Linked DNA regions of Homo sapiens: region 2 is linked to region 1. The links are contacts of gene promoters, found by promoter capture Hi-C in human tissues and cell types (Jung and others, 2019). All regions are on one chromosome and are shown on one strand. The core of a region is centred on a gene start or on the middle of the fragment in contact, and the rest is flanking DNA. Distances in the headings are between cores, read along the strand shown. Region 1 holds the start of MAGI2 (membrane associated guanylate kinase, WW and PDZ domain containing 2). Region 2 has its middle 5.2 kb from the start of GNAI1.

The links. Contacts are between HindIII fragments. The study calls those that stand out against the background at their distance.
Region 2: a contact is called between a fragment that was not itself captured here and the fragment with the promoter of MAGI2 in region 1, in 1 of the 25 tissues and cell types used here (hippocampus).

What each region holds. Positions count from the first base shown.
Region 1 is chr7:79,452,190-79,455,224 of GRCh38, forward strand. It overlaps MAGI2 (membrane associated guanylate kinase, WW and PDZ domain containing 2), which reads right to left and starts at 1,478. Exons shown (of 22, transcript NM_012301.4): 1 at 831-1,478. The coding sequence starts at 1,131. MAGI2-AS3 (MAGI2 antisense RNA 3) reads left to right here and starts at 768. Exons shown (of 4, transcript NR_038346.1): 1 at 768-1,002; 2 at 1,398-1,466. RefSeq lists an enhancer at 1-218. The HindIII fragment of the contact is 8,431 bases long and covers 1-3,035 here.
Region 2 is chr7:80,128,103-80,131,137 of GRCh38, forward strand. No RefSeq gene overlaps it. Among named protein-coding and RNA genes, the nearest start is that of GNAI1, 5.2 kb to the right of the region's middle. RefSeq lists an enhancer at 1-116. The HindIII fragment of the contact is 4,059 bases long and covers 1-3,035 here.

The sequences.
Region 1 (3,035 bases), core at 228-2,727:
CCCCTGAGTAAAGTCCATGCGGACAACCATTCATCTCCTCCGACAACCATTCATCTCCTCCGACCCCCGCCCAGCACTAGACTGCGCTCCTAGCACCGCGCCTTCTTCCGGAGCCTCCTCCCCCGGGCTGGCTAGGGGTGAGCGCAGGGGTTAGTCAGTACGCACGTGACGCGCGATGCCCACATGACACGACCGTGAGCGGGGGAGGGGGACACGGAGTGAAGAAGGGGAAAAGTTACAGAAGACCCGTCAAAGCGCCCAAAGCAATTTGTCCCTTCTTTTCTTCGCCAGCGGTGGCTCACGGATCCCTAAGGGACAGCTGGGGACCCAGGCGCCCCCAGCCCAGCCCCAGAAACGCTGGACGCAGTTCTCCGCTCACCCCACCACCTTCTCTTCCCAGACCCGCTGGTGATGCCGCTGCACCCTGAAGTTGCTCCTTCCTTCTTTCCCTCCCTTCCTCCCATTCTTTCTTTCTTTTCTTCCTTCCTCCCTTCCCCAAAAGCTCTTCATCCGCTTCGGGTGATGCCACTGACGCACATTCAATTTGCCCCAGCAGCTCTGAGGAGGTCAGACCAGGCCGAGCACCTTCCAAAGGGGAGGGTCTAACTGAGCAAACAAAGTTGCACGCCACACCACAACCTGCCCCTCCCCTCCCTTTAGCCCCCAAGTCGAATCCCCGGCGAAACTCACTTGCACTGCGGGTGCTCTCTGGCCCCCACCCCATCATCGCGCAACACACCCCCTTCAACATGCGCGGCCACCCTTTCATTGCCCTGCGCCCCGAGCGGTCCCACCGCCCGGCAAAACACTGAGCAAGCCGCTGCTCTCACCTTGCTTGACACACTTGAGCCGGAGGGGGTCCTTGCAGTGTTTGATCACGGCCAGCACGTCCCTGATGGTGAGCCCCGCCACGGGGGTCTCGTTCACCTCCAGCAGCAGCTCCTCCGACACCAATTTGCTGCCGCTCTCATAGGCCACCTTGCCGGGCTTCACCTCCCCCAGGTAGGGGAACTGTCCATTCTCGGCGCCCCCCTTCAGTTCAAAGCCCAGCTGGCCCTCCGGGTTCCTGCCAATGACACTCTCATGGACTTTGCTAGTCCAGTGGCTTTTCTTTTTCAAGCTTTTGGACATGGCAGTGGGGCGAGTCGCCTCAGTTCCTGGGCTCCTTGGGGTTAGGGGGGCTGGTGGTGAGAGAATGAGGATGGAGGAGCAAGGGGGCCCAGGGGGAAGAACAGCAGACTTTGCCTTCGCCCCCCTCTATTCGGTGCTTTCCCTCTTCTTTGGATGGAGTGTGGACGAGGAATGGGGAGGATGAGAGGGACGGCTGGGCAGAGGTAGGAGAGCTTGGATGAGGTTGTGCTGTCCCTTGAATGACACTCAAGGCTGTGGCCCCGCAGCAGAGGAAGCAGTGGTGGTGGCGTCGGCGGCGGCGGCGGCGGCAGCCGGAGCGAGCAGTAGCCGAGCTGGTGAGCGGGTGTGGTGGGGGTGGGGAAGGAGGGTAGGGATGCCGGGGGCCACTCCTGCGTGGTGCGAGTGGGAACGCGCGCGCGCGCCTGGGTGTGTGTTGTTAGCTGATATCCATGGCAGCTGCAGTGGCAGGGTGCGTGTGCGTGTGTGTGTGTGTGTGTGTGTGTACTAGTTCTACTGTACTGGCAGACGGGAGGAGGCAGGGGAGGAGGGGCGCGCGCGCCGGGTGGGGAGCCACGGAGGGCTTCGCCGCTGCCTCCCTCCCTCCCTCCGCAGCTTGACCCGGTAGTGAAGGCAGAGAGAGAGGCAGGCTGGGTCCGCCTGGCAGCCTACGGGAGGAGGCGGGAGCCGGGAAGGAGGGGAGCCTAGGCCCGGCGTGGGGAGGCCGGCAGGAAGGGCCTCGAGCCCAGTGCGGACCTTTCTTCAGCCTCTGTGCGACCGAGCCGCGCGCCAGGCTCCTGTGCGAGGAGGACGCGCTGACTCCCTCCGACCTGGGCTCCGATGGAGCAGAAATAGCGGGACCTGGACTTGTGGCGCGCCTGGTGCCACATCTCGGGCTCTGCGAGCGTCCTGGCGCGGGATCCTGCCGTGAGAAGGAGTTGGGGCGGGGGACCCGGCGGGGCATTGCGGGAGAAGGCCTGGGATCCCTGGGAGCCTTGTAGCGTGGGGGAGTTCACTGTGTAGAGAGGTTTCATGTCTTCATCTATATAGTCACTTATTTGTCTTAAAGTTCTCGAAATTCCCTCTTAGAGAAGGAGAAAGTTAGAGAACTGGAGGCTGCGTACCCTGATTACGCAGAAGGGAAGCAGCCTCGCATTCCCCGGGGCAGGCCCCCGCCCGCGCGTCCCGCCAGTAGGGGAATTTAGCGGACGGCTGCGGTTGTCTGGTGAAAGGCTATCCAAGGATAAGGGGCTTCACTTTTCCCAAGTAGGGGAAAGAGAAGGGGTCTACAGGGCTAGGGGTGGAGGGAGCGGATGCAGTGAGCAGCCTCCGCAGAGAAATTGACAATTTAACCAGGGACCTGCGGCAGAGACAAGGCGGAGACACTCCCTTGCCCAGGAAAGCCGCCAGAGTCCGGCTTGTACCTGGGGAAGAATCCTTAAGACGGTCTGGCCCAACACTCCTTTGCTCACAGAGAAAGGGGAGAAGACTCCCGAGGGTGAAAATGGTACATTCGGAGCTGGAACTCAGCTCGCTGACCCCAAGCAGTGTTCCCTTCTTTTCGCCAGGTTTGCATCCAAGAGAGGGGAGGACAGGGGCAAAAGGATGCAGGGAGGCTGCTGATTTCCACTGAAGAGCTAATTTCCTGTGAGACATTAACAGTGATTTAAGAAAAAGATTCCTGTAACTGGTAAATGAATTTCATTTGCTTAACTTTTAGATGATATGTTTCAGGCAAAAAAAAAGTTGTGCACCCACTTATCTCTTTAAAGCGGAGGATGAAAAGCATTGAATAGGTAGGATTCTTAATGTCTGAGATGAAGGCGATGTAGGAGGCAAACAATACGGTTAAAAATGTTGAGTCGACCCAAACAGAAAGACCAGGTTTCAATCCAGACTCTGCGGCT
Region 2 (3,035 bases), core at 139-2,638, 680 kb after region 1:
CTTTTCTTCAGAAGCTAGCCTATGCTTCAAGCTTGGCCCAAGGTTTGCTTGATCCTCTGTTAGGACAGCATATTTGAAATTTTGGTAAGGGCAAACAACACTGGGGCAGGGGAAGACATGTCCTCATTCTTAGGTTTATTCTTAAAAAGAAAAATAGGAAGCTTGAGAACCATGAAAACACAATGCAGATAGGAATCACAAAATATGTACAAAATGTTATTGTTGCCCATCAAGATACAAACGGATACATCATGAATTTGATGACAATTTCTCCTCTTCGGATCTTATCTACATCCCTCCTTCTGGCCCTCAAAGTCCTCAATTATCCCTGTCACCTTAATCTCTTTCTTTTTCCTATTTTGTTCTTATTCTTGGATCTGACAAAACAGAAAGAAAAATGCACTATAATTATGAGCACATGATGTGCCTGGAACTGTGTTATGAGTTACCTTACTTAACACAACACTTCTAATATCTCCAGTGTTGAAGAAGAAACTGAGGTTTACAAATTCCAAAGTAGAAAAAATTCCCTCCACCTGAATGGCCTGCACAGCTCTATAGGATCTGGTTCCTGCCTACCTTGCAGCCCTCGCCTCCCTGATCTCCTACCTCTCTCATCTCCACTTCAGTCAAACTAACCTTTGAGTTCCTTGATCAAGTCAACTTCCATTCCACCCTAGGGCTGTTGCCCTTGTATTCAACATTGAAAGGCACTGGAATCTTCTTCCTCCAAACATGGTTCCTTCTAGCCATCTGGTTCTCTGCTCAAACGTTGTCACCTCATTAGAGTAATCTTCATGAATGTTCAGTTGAAAGTACCTATCTTTCCCTCAGAGTAACTCCTTGTTGTGGCCACGAAGGTGCACCATTCAGATGACCCTTTAAGGGAGCATAGTTGGCTGATAGCCTCCAACTGCCCCATCTTTAGATCTATTGCAGTGTTCTCACTTAGGCCTGAGGCTCTCTCTTCCAAGGCTGCCCTGAGCCTGTGACTGAGTAAGATAGGGGTACTAGACCCAGCCCACTTCACCACTTCCGCCCAGTACGGGACTTCCCTAATGAACAATATCTACTCAGGACTGGGTTGTGGGACAGAGATCTCATCAGGTTGGCCAAGACTTTCTTCAAGCTGCACCATAACCTGTCCCAAACTCCCTCTTTCCTTCTCTCCTTGTCCAGGTGTCAGAGCTGCATCACATTTGAAGTGCTCCCCAGCTACTCCTGCTCCTACTCTCTCTTATCCTTCACAGAATCTTCTCCCAATCTCTTGTTTGTCTAATTCTGTCTTGACGTCTGCTTCTCAGAAGACCTGAACTGGTGCACTCTCTTGTAAAACACTGCTTCATTACTTTCATAGCATTTATAACTATTTTTATTTTATCCAATTAAATTGATCCACTTATGTATTTATTTAATATCTCCCTCCTACCACTGCCACCATCTCCTCGTCAATGTAATCTGTCTTATTCATCACCTTATTCCCAGTGCTAAGAACACCACCTGGCTTATAATAGGTCTTCAGTTAATATTGTTGAATAAATGAATTAATGGATTTAGAAAGCTAGATTTATACTTTAGATCCAGAGGCTCCTCTTTATTCAATTACTGCGGGTTTTACTGTTCTAGGTCTTGGACATAAAACAGTAAGCAAGAAAGACAAAGTCTCTGCTCTTTTGAATTTATATTCAAGGGAGGGAAGACAGGTAATAAACACATAATCACAAATATATATATGCTATGTGATAAGAGATATAAAGAAATTATAGTGTGTAATAAGGGAATAAAGAGTGGTTGTTGAGTAGTTAGGAAAGATATCTCTCTGATAAGATTACATTTGAACAGAGATTTGGATGAAATAAGGGAGTGAGTCAAGCAGATACCTGGCTCAAGAGTGTTCCAGGCAGGGGGAGCATAAATGCCAAGGCCAATGATGGAGTGTGTTTGGCAAGTTCAAACAGTCTGGAGGTCAGGGAGGCTGAACCAGACAACAAGGAGAATGGCAGAAAATACTATGGGGAGGCACATGGTTAAAAAAAAGGGTAAGTCCTTGTATGCCATCATAAGGATTTTAGATGAGATTTTCCTCTAAGTGAGATGGAAAGTGAATGGATAGTTCTCCCTGACATTTTAAAAGGATGCATCTGGCTGCTAGGTGGGAACAGTAAGCGATTAAGGTAAAAGTAGAGGGAGCAGAAAGCAGGTTATTTAATATTTGATAAATATCTCCAGTGTCTATCAGTAAAGATGGCGATATTTGGCCAAGTTCTGGTTATATTTGAAGACAAAGTTAGTAGGATTTCCTAACAGATTGAATAACTAAGGCTTGCAGGAAAGGAAAGAATCTAGGATGACTCCAAGTATTTGGCCTGAGCAAACAGAAATGTGGAGTTGTTGATTACCGTGTTTTCCTCTGTTCAAGCTCAGCTGAACAGGTATAGTCATACAGAGGCAGAGTAGATTTAACCAGATTTGAAGTTTTTCCTGTTGAATACAATGGTGGGAGTGTTTTGAGGATATTGCAAAGGAATAATTGTCCTGATGGAAGATGGGATATAAGTTGCATAAGGAGAGACATTAGCACATGCAGCACACGACAGAAAGAGAAAAGGCATGTGGTCGGTAGATGGAAGGTCTCTGTGGGACTGGAGAATTGATGGTAATAACGTAACAGAGGGTGAGATGAAAAGGTCTGAAGTGGTGGTCAGAAAGTAGGGTGGCCATATTTTTTCCTTTGTCCCATAACTGTATCAGTCTGTTCTTATGCTGCTAATAAAGACATACCCAAGACTGGGCAATTTATAAAGGAAAGAGGTTTAATTGACTCACAGTTCAGCATGGCTAGGGAGGCCTCACAATCATGGTGGAAGGCAAAGGAGGAGCAAAGTCACGTCTTACATGGCAGCAGGCAAGAAAGCTTATGCAGGAAAACTCCTACTTATAAAACCATTGGCTCTCATGAGACTTATTCACTACCAGGAGAACAGTATGGGGGAATTTGACCTCATGATTCAATTATCTCCACCTGGTCCCACCCT